3 separate regions of the Homo sapiens genome follow, and regions 1 and 3 are each linked to region 2. The links are contacts of gene promoters, found by promoter capture Hi-C in human tissues and cell types (Jung and others, 2019). All regions are on one chromosome and are shown on one strand. Each heading gives the region's core, a stretch centred on a gene start or on the middle of the fragment in contact. The rest is flanking DNA. Distances are from core to core; before and after follow the strand shown.

Region 1 (3,173 bases), core at 581-3,080, 170 kb after region 2:
ACTGTCGCCCAAGCTGGAGTGTAGTGGTGTGAATATACGCCCAACCATATACTCTAATTTTCTACAGTGAAGGTTGTCCAAGCCTGGTTTCCCACAGTAAGCAAGCCTGAGCCCTGGGTTTGTAGGCAGCTAGTTTATTTACAGAAGTGATTCTAGAGAAGAGGCCTGAGAGACTAAGAAGAGTTAGACAAGGAATAAGGGACAGTTAATTGCAAGAGCATCTTTGAGCCTGGAGTGGTGGCTCACACCTGTAACCCCAGCACTTTGGGAGGCTGAGGTGGGTGGATCACTTGAGGTCAGGAGTTCAAGACTAGTCTGGCCAACATGGTGAAACCCTATCTCTACTAAAAATACAAAAACTTAGCCAGGTGTGGTGGCGGGCACCTGTAGTCCTAGCTACTCAGGAGGCTGAGGCAGGAGAATGGCGTGAACCCGGGAGGCGGAGCTTCCAGCGAGCCGAGATCGCGCCACTGCACTCCAGCCTGGGCAACAGAGCGAGACTCCGTCTCAAAAACAAAACAAACCAAACAAACAAACAAACAAAAAACCATTTATTGAGCATGTATTAATCACCAGTCTCAAAGCTAAGAGTTGCCAATCTAGAAGGGAAGGGATATATATATATACATAAAAATAAAATTACAAATTGTGTTATGTATTATGATGAGAAGTACAGGATGCTGTGAGAATGAGTAACAGGGATACCTGATGTTTCTTGAGTGGAGGTTGGAAGATTAAGTGAAATGTGAGTTGAGATATGAAAGATGTGTAGGAGTTAACCAAGTCAAGGTGGGGGGAAAAGTTCCCTGCTGAGGGAATATCAGGTGCAAAGAAAACATTTTTAAGTGGAACGCCATCGTATGTCATTTTCTTTCCCATCTTAAAGCCCTTGGATTTCCTTCTGGAAATCTCTCTCCTAAGATCTGACCTTCCCTTGGCTGGTTTCTCTTTCAGATTTTTAAAAAAAAATTTTTATTTCCACAGGTTATTGGGAACAGGTGGTATTTGGTTACATGAGTAAGTTCTTTAGTGGTGATTTGTGAGATTTTGGTGCACGCATCACCCGAGCAGTATACACTGAACCCAAGTTATAGTCTTTTATCCCTCCCCACCTTCCCACCCTCCCCTCGTCCCCCTCCCCTGTTCCAAAGTCCCATAAGTCATTCTTATGCTTTTGCATCCTCGTAGCTTAGCTCCCACTTATATGTGAGAACATACGATGTTTGGTTTTCCATTCCTGAGTTACTTCACTTAGAATAATAGTCTCCAATCCCATCCAGGTTGCTACGAATGCCATGAATTCATTCCTTTTTTATGGCTGAGTAGTATTCCACCATATGTATATATCAGTTTCTTTATCCACCTGTTGATTCTCTTTTAGATTTTAATTTAAATAACATCTTAAACAGACTTTCACTATCAATCCTTACTCCCCTTACCTTACCTTATTTTGTTTTCTTCCTAATACCTATCACTGATTTAAATGTTCATATTTCTTTGTTTAAAGTCTCCCTACTTAAACGCATGCTCCAAGACGTCAGAGTTTTTGTTTTGTTTTACAGATTTAAATGCTGAATTCTTGGTGCCTGGCATATAGTAGTTGCTGAATGAATGTTTGTTGAATGAAGGAACAATGCTTGGCGCAAAGTCAGAGCTTAGCAAAAGTGATAGGCAGCAGAGCTGACGGGCTGAGGGGCAGCTGCGTAAACCTCTGCTTTGGGCGCCACAAGCCACAAGCCGGACCACCACGTGCGTACAGGGGCAGCGCCGGGGGCGTGGCGGGGGCGTGGACGCCCACCCGGAACCCTAGAGCGGCGGCGGCAGCGGCTTCCGGCCGCGGCGGACACTTCCCTGGGCGGGACTGTCTCGTGGCACCCGGTGGAACCGAGGAGAACGTGGAGCGCCGGGAGCGGCGAATATGGACGACTACAGCCTGGATGAGTTCCGTCGGCGCTGGCAGGAGGAGCTGGCGCAGGCCCAGGCGCCGAAGAAGCGGCGACGGCCCGAGGCTGCCGAGAGGCGGGCTCGGCGGCCGGAGGTGGGCTCCGGGCGCGGCGAACAGGCCTCGGGGGACCCGGCGCTGGCCCAGCGTCTCCTGGAGGGCGCGGGGAGGCCCCCGGCGGCGCGGGCGACTCGGGCCGAGGGGCAGGACGTAGCGAGCCGCTCACGTTCTCCTCTGGCCCGCGAGGGCGCCGGGGGCGGGGAGCAGCTGGTGGACCAGCTCATCCGCGACCTGGTGAGTGGCCGTCGCCTCCCCCCCGCCCATGCCTGCGCCGGCCCCCGCCCCCAGGACAAACCCCTGCAGTGATTTGGAGAGTAACTGTGTGCCACTAGTTGCCCGAGAAAATGAGTAGACGCACAAACACCAATGTTTGTGCTTGCATAGGGGTCTTTCTGGAAGCAGCACTTCCCAACCAGGGCGATTTTGTTCCCCCAGATGTGGCAGTGTCTGCAGACATTTTTGGGTGCCTCATCGGGGTGTGTATGTGTGCATGTTACTGGGCATCTAGTGGGTAGAGGCCAGAGATGCTCCTGAACATCCTACAGTGTACAGGACACCACGCACAAAAAAATTATCCAGGACAAAATATCAGTAAGTGTGGGGTTGAGAAATCCTGCTCTTGAAGGCTACCTAAACTTTGAACAAAGGTTGCCTTTGAAAAGGAGGACCCAGATGATGGATAGGAAGTAATTTTACCTTTGTATACTGTTTGCACTATTTAATTTTTGTAACCGTGCACGTATTCAAAAAAATTATCTCAGAAAAAAAGGAAGAAGAGGAGGAAGAATCTCCTGGGCACTTTCATTAGGATAGAGTTTCTTATCTTTTTGTGGGGCGTGGATACCTTGGAGAATCTGGAGGAAGCTGGGGACCCTGTGTCCGTTAAAAATAATCCCCTTCAGAAAGTTGGGAAAATCAAGAACACCTGAAATGCATCCGTGGCTCCCAGGTTAAGAGGACAAGGCTCCAGGTTCTAATGGTTTGATTTAAATTAGGCCCAAAGGAAGTCCCTACAGCTTTACAATTGGGAACCCACTTTTTTTTTTCCTGTTTTTTTTTTTTTTTCTTTCTTTCTTTCTTTTCTGAGACAGGGTCTTGCTCTGTTGCCCAGGCTAGAGTGTACTGTTGCTCTCCCGGCCCACTGCAGCCTCAAACTGCCTGGCTCAAGCCA
Region 2 (3,138 bases), core at 54-2,553:
CCAGGCCTGCTGCGAAGATGAAGCCAGCAAATGCACGCCCTCTCTTAGCTCTGGACCGGGCAGGTGAAAAGCAGGGAGGTGTTCATAAAAGCAGTCCCCACCGCTGAAGGGTCCTCAACTCGGGGTTCTAGTCCCAGCTCTGCCCTGGCCTAGCAACCCCTTCCCGCTGCAGGGACCAAGGCGGTGGGCAGGTCCCTCACCCGTGCTGAGACCGGGACAGGAATGCGCACCTCTCCCCACCCTCGGACGCCCCGGCGGCGCCGCTGCAGAAGTCGGGAGGTCGGACAAACGCGAGGAGTAAGGAAAAAGAGGAGGAAGGGAAGGAAGGAGGAAGAACGAAGTGAGGAAAGAGGATGTCAGGGAAGAAAGGGAGTAAAGGAAGAAGGAAGGGAGAGGGGGACAGAAAGGAGGAGGACGGAAGGAGGAAGGGAAGGAAGAAAGACGGAAGGGAAGGGAGAGGAAAAAGGGGAGGAAAGAAGAAAGGGAAGGGGGAGGAAGGAAAGGGGGAGGAAGGAAGGAGGAGGAAGGTGAGGAAGGTAAGGAAGGAAGGGAGGCAGGGAGAGGGGAAGGAAGGAGGAAGATAAGGAAGGAGGGGAGGTAGGAAGAAGGGAAGGAAGGAGGAAGGAAGGGAAGGGGAGAAAGAAAGGAAGGGAAGGGGTAGGAAGACAGGGAGGAAGGAAAAAAGGAGGAAGGTAACGAAGGAAGGAAGGAGAAAGTAAAGTAAGGGGGAGGAAGGAAGGAAGAAGGGAAGGGGAGGAGGGGAAGGGCGGCCACTGACCTGCTTGAAGGTGCTGCTGAGGAAGTAGACGAGCGACAGCCCGAAGACCAGGGCGAGCACCCACCTCTTCCGCAGAAGCCGGCGCCACACCATGGCCGCCAGGTTCACCATCCCGGCGCGGACGTGGGGCGCGGCGGCCGGGGCGCGGAACGCGGCAGGCCCGGGTCCCGGGCGGCATGGCCCCTACGCGCCCGGCAGCCCCATCCCTCCAGGCAGGCGCCGGCCCCGCCGCCCGCAGCCCAGTCTGCTCCCGGCAGCCTTGGGCGCAGCCCCACGTGACCCCGCCCTACGCCCCGCCTCCGCTCCGCAGCGACAAGGGCTAGTCGCGCAAGATCTTCTCACCATTGGTCCCTAAGGAACGGCGGCCTCCTATTGGTTAAGTGCCGGGAAAGGGGGCGGACAATCGCGTGAGTGCTGCGGGCGTAGCTGTGCCCGGGTCCTAGCGCCGGACCCGGCGACGCCAAGAAACCACCCAATAGGAGGCCGGAAGCATCGGAAGTCACATGCTGCCCAGGCTGCGCGGGTGATTGGCTTGGCTGGACCTGAATGATGCGGCTGTGATTGCTGAATTGTCTGGGCAGGTAAAAAGAGAACGCGATTTTTTTTTCTTTTCTCCCATCATGGTCTGTGTAGTCTCCTGCCCTTGCAGTCCCAGAGCGTTTTGCGCTGTGTGTTGGTTGCAGGGATGAAAAGCGCTCGCGACGTTGTTCCCGAAGTGCACCTGCCGGCTTCCAGTCCAAGTGATGCAGGCGATGCTCCTCTGAGTGCATTTCGGTGCAGTCCTGTAACGGGCCCCAGGGGCGCAACTTGAACCATCGCAAGCATCGAAAAGTCTCGGTGCGGTCCTTCAAAGGGACATAGTGGGATGTACAGAGCAGAGGATTAAAAAGCGTTTCATTCATTCAGATGCATCCCGCGTGCAAAAATTTATTCCAGAATTATGTACGGCCTGCTTCCGACAAAGAATCCGAAGCCTCTTCCAATACAAGCATCCGAAAGTAGAGTTTCGAGCATTCGATTTAGGAGTTAAATGTGTGGATGAGAACTTTGGAATATGAATTTTATTTTCCCCCAAGGATTTGCAATGTGGGATAATGGAGGGAGGGGCGAGAGGAGGATTAAGTTGAGATTGCAAATTCTTGAAAAATATTTATATAATGACCTTTTCTTGATATATGAAGATGCTGCTGCTGACCGGTTTGTTACCTAATTTTTCAAAAGAGAAAGGAGGCTTCACTGGCGGGTCATTTTTAATCAGTGGCCCTAGTGACACCATTGCTGCCCCCTCAAGAAGCCTGGTCAGGATTAGGAAGTCATTCAACAGCCAATAATCGTGCCCTAAACTGAAGTCAGACACCATCTGACTGATATAGACACCCTATATCCACAATATTGGCTCTGCCTCCAGAGACAAGAAGATATTCACGGAGGCTAAACCTTTTCATGGGAAGTAGATGGCCCTTATTACCTTGCTAGGGTGAAAGGTGGGACAGGGAGCAAGGGATCTAGAAAAGGGGAACTGGGAGACCCATAGATGTTTTATTCATTGAGTAAATACTTGTTGAGCGCCACTCTGTGCCAAACAGTGTCCTGGATGCTGAGGCAGAGGGGTGATCCAAGTAGACAGGATCCCTACTTTCAGGAATGGCATTTATATTCTAATGGGGAGGACAAATCATAAATAAATAAGCAAACATGAACAAATAAGTGCTATGAATAATATAAAACAGGGCAATATTACGGGGAGTCAGGAGAATGAGAAGAGAAGGCCTCTGGGAAGAGACGACATTTGCCCTGCGGGACCAAGCCCTGCCACATTTAGAGGAGAAAGTATTCCAAGGGGAGGGCACAGCAAGTGCAAAGGCCCTGAGGCAGGGACACGCTGACACATTAGAGGAACAGAAGGGCCACTGTGGGTGGACAGGAGTGGGAAAAGGGAGAATGGGAGGAAATGCAGTTGGAAACAGATGATGCTACATCAGGAAGAACCCGTAGGCTATGGACAGAGCTCGGGTTTGATTCTGATTGCACTGGGCAGCCGTTGGAGGGTTTAAAACATATTTTCTGGCTTCCCCAATCAGGACTCTTAGTTTGACAATAGGATGAAATACAATACCTTAAGAGTTTCAAAGAGGGCCGGGCATGGTGGCTTATGCCTGTAATCCCAGCACTTTGGGAGGCCAAGGCAGGCGGATCACTTGAGGTCAGAAGTTTGAGACCAGCCTGGCCAATATGGTGAAATCCCATCTCTACTAAAAATACAAAAATTGGGTGGGCGTGGTGTCGCATGCCTGTAAGCCTGTAATTTCAGCCACTCAGGAGGCTGAGGCAGGAGAATCGCTTGAACCTGGGAGGCAGAG
Region 3 (3,471 bases), core at 72-2,571, 210 kb after region 2:
AAGCTGTTTGAGGCATGACGAGACAGCAGTGTGGTGGCAGTGTTTCTTTCTCACCTGGGAGGCTGGAGATTCAATGGTAGAGAAGGGATGGAACCATTCTCTTTACTCCCATAAAGGTCAATCCTAATAGACTTTGAGATTAACAAGCTTTTGTGCATTACTGATAATGACAAATTGCCTATGTGCCTGTCTGTCCCTACTCACCTCCTAACCTGATTAGTGACCAATACGCTTGATCTGGGCAACCTCACACGGTTTCTAGCAAAGTCAATAAGAGCAGTGTCTCTCTAGTTCAGGGGTTCTCAACCCCAGCACTAGTGACATTTGGGGCCAGCTAATTCGTTTTGTGCGGGGCTGTCCTGTGCATTGCAGGCTGTTGAGCAGTATCTCTGGCCTCTCCCCATTAGACGCCAGTAGCATTCTCTTCCTCCCCCAAGTCATGACAACTAGAAATGCCCCTAGACATTGCTGGATGTCCCCTGGGAATCAAAATCCCCTCCCAGTCGAGAACCACTGTTCTGAGAGTTAGTGTGGCTATCCTTTCTTAGGCTGTTAAGACACCACCACTAAGACAGGTCACGCTGGCCCCACAGTGCCCTTTTCCATCCACCTACGGTAATAAACTCGTCTGGAGGGAGCCCCCAGTCCCTCTTGCCCGTGTGCCTGGGTAGGTCCATGTGATGCACACAGGCAGAAAGGTATGACAAAGAAAGCTGCCCAGATAAACAAGGGGTCAGAAAGCAGAGGGTCTAACCCTGGTGGGAGGGGCTGCGATTTAAGGAAAGCTTGAGAGCTGAATGTTAACGGGGTCCTTTCTCTCCAGAAAGGAGAGATACTTTTGAGATTTACAAGCAGGAGAGTTGGAGATATTTGGCATCCCCAGGCTTGAATTCGAAGATGTCAGACCGTGGTAGAGAAAAGCAGCAGCTGTGTTTTTTGCTTCCTCTTTGGTGATAGAGAAAGCAAGGGAAGAGGACAGGTATGTCCTTGTTGGGCCTGGAGGTGGCAGAAGTGACGATATTTTAAAGACCCATCACCTAGCATTTGGCACTTAGTAACACTTTACAAGTTATATACAATCTAGCTGAATGTCTATTTAGTATTTATTTCTAATGAACAGGAAGTCATGTGTTAGGTAAGTACTCACTACATGGCTGTTGATTGAGTGAACTGGAGCGGACTGCAGGCTGAACCAAACATGAGGGAGACTTCTATTTGGAGCGTGTAAGGTCCATTTCCTGACAGTGTTAACAAGGAGAATTCTAGGAGTGAAATTTTAAATGATGTATCTTTCATTAAATGTAATGGTGGGATTCTTACCAAAATTCTGGAATGAAAGAAAGCCTTATCAAAACATGAAAGGCGGCCCGGCACCGTGGGTCACTCCTGTAATCCCAGCACTTTGGGAGGCTGAGGCGGATGGATCACTTGAGGTTAGGAGTTCCATGGCCAATATGGTGAAACCCCATCTCTACTAAAAATACGAAAATTAGCCGGGCGTGGTGGCACACACCTGTAGTCCCAGCTACTGGGAGGCTGAGATTGGAGAATCGCCTGAACCCTGGAGGTGGAGGTTGCAGTGAGCCAAGATTGCGCCATTGCACTCCAGCCTGGGCGACAGAGCGAGACTGTCTCAAAAAAAAAAAAAAAAAAGAAAAGAAAGAAAGAAATGAAAGGCAGTGTTGGGGCAAGTTGCTTTACTTTTGTCTGCCTCCATTTTCTCATCTCTAGAGTAGGGGCTAGGAGTGGCACTGCTCATGGCGTCATGGTGAGGATGATCGTCATCAAGTGTCTGCCACTCCTGCAGAGCCTGGTCCACGCTCAGTGCTCAGGCGAGGTTGGCTGTAGGAGAGCATAGGCCTCTGCACACAGATGCAGGGTTCTGTGCTGTGCGTGCTCGACTTCAGGATGGGTTAGGCAGGCGATTTGGTTTGGTACCTCTTAAGTCAGTGTCTGGGGAGACCCTAGAAGGGACCCCAGGGTTCTCAGGTACCTCCACAAAGAGAATGGCCTGCAAATGCATGAAGTTATCTGGAATTGCATTTCAGAGCCAACCTGGAAATGATTTGCTAAACTAATTGTGGTGGCCATAGTGTTTTTTTTCCTAGTGTTTGCATAAATGCAGGTTTTCATCTTAGGCCCTCTATTTTTCTTTCAATACTTTTTCCCTCACAAGAGATTTTCTGTTATTGTAACCTTGGTTGCGGCCTTCACACAGCTGACTCCCAGATCCTTGCCTTCCCTCCCCATATCTCCACTTGTAGGACAGCTCCACGTGGATGTGTCTAGTTTTATCTCTCAGCCTTAGACTCATTCCTTGGATTAAGTTAAGACCATCATGCAAATTACTTTGCTCAGTTTCTAGAGTCTAGGTACTTAATAAATGTGTATTTTAATGGAATGATGTCATCTTTTTCCTAATAATAGAAATAATAATAATAATGGCTACCACTTATTGAACACTTGCTGTATGTTAAGAACTGTGCTGGGCACTTACACTGTTTCTAGTCTTTGTCCCAGTCTGGTAAAGTTGAAATTATGGTATTCTTGAATACCTTTATTCATGCTTGCTTTGTGGCCTATCTCACTTTTCCCAACCTCCCACATGTAAATACTTTATGTGCATTCAGATTCCCTTCATTTTAATTCAATTTAATTTTTTATTTTTTTAGAGATAGGTTCTCACTCTCTTGCCCAGGCTGAAGTACAGTGTTGCAATCATAACTCACTGTAGCCTTAAGTTCCTGGACTCAAGTGATCCTCCTGCCTCATCCTCTCAAATAGTTGGGACTACAGGTGCATGCCACCACACCTGACTGTCTTTTAAATTTTTTGCAGAGATGGGGTCTCCCTGTGTTGCACAGGCTGGTCTCAAAACTTCTGAGCTCAAGTGATCTTCCTGCCTCTGCCTCCCAAAGTGCTGGGATTACAGGCATGAGCCACTGTGCCTGGCCTAGACTGTCATTCAAATACCATTTCCATGAAACCTCTGGCCTCTCAGTTAGAAATAGTATCATCTCATCTCCTTTTCCTCATCCTGATCTTTATCTATTTGTATATAATTTTGCATTTTATTCTGAGAGTCCTTATAAGAATTAACAGGTAAGGTATCATGTAATACTTTCTTTTTGCTGAACGGAACTTTTTCACATACTTTATAAGTTTCTTTAGATACTTGCCACTCCCAGCAGATACATGCCAGCCTATTGTGGATGGTAGTTATTGGTGAGCACATATTTGCTTTCTATTCTGTAACCTCCTGGAGGATGGGGCAATGTCTCACACGTCCTGTGTCCTCGAGTTCAGTGCCTTTGGGATATATGGTAACTCGCCCATGCTTAACAGCTTAGCATGTTAGTCATCATCTTTGTCTTTTTGAATGCCCATGGAACTTTGAATGCACTTGTTGTCCATGCTGTAGAGAATTGCTGTGGAAAGTAGGTGAAAAAGCACGATGCTTGGCTTTCGGGC

What was found. Contacts are between HindIII fragments. The study calls those that stand out against the background at their distance.
Region 1: the fragment with the promoter of FBXW8 here is called in contact with the fragment with the promoter of RNFT2 in region 2 in 4 of the 25 tissues and cell types used here (adrenal gland, aorta, heart left ventricle and 1 more).
Region 3: a contact is called between a fragment that was not itself captured here and the fragment with the promoter of RNFT2 in region 2, in 3 of the 25 tissues and cell types used here (H1 embryonic stem cells, dorsolateral prefrontal cortex and liver).

The regions. Positions count from the first base shown.
Region 1 is chr12:116,909,120-116,912,292 of GRCh38, forward strand. It overlaps FBXW8 (F-box and WD repeat domain containing 8), which reads left to right and starts at 1,831. Exons shown (of 11, transcript NM_153348.3): 1 at 1,831-2,236. The coding sequence starts at 1,919. RefSeq lists silencers at 1,659-1,878, 2,039-2,298. The HindIII fragment of the contact is 14,688 bases long and covers 1-3,173 here.
Region 2 is chr12:116,737,012-116,740,149 of GRCh38, forward strand. It overlaps RNFT2 (ring finger protein, transmembrane 2), which reads left to right and starts at 1,304. Exons shown (of 11, transcript NM_001382266.1): 1 at 1,304-1,359. It overlaps SPRING1 (SREBF pathway regulator in golgi 1), which reads right to left and starts at 1,058. Exons shown (of 5, transcript NM_024738.4): 1 at 779-1,058. The coding sequence starts at 889. RefSeq lists enhancers at 1-558, 1,327-1,586 and silencers at 747-796, 877-1,136. The HindIII fragment of the contact is 23,901 bases long and covers 1-3,138 here.
Region 3 is chr12:116,946,102-116,949,572 of GRCh38, forward strand. All of the region lies in intron 3 of FBXW8 (F-box and WD repeat domain containing 8), which reads left to right. Among named protein-coding and RNA genes, the nearest start is that of FBXW8, 37 kb to the left of the region's middle. The HindIII fragment of the contact is 5,462 bases long and covers 1-3,471 here.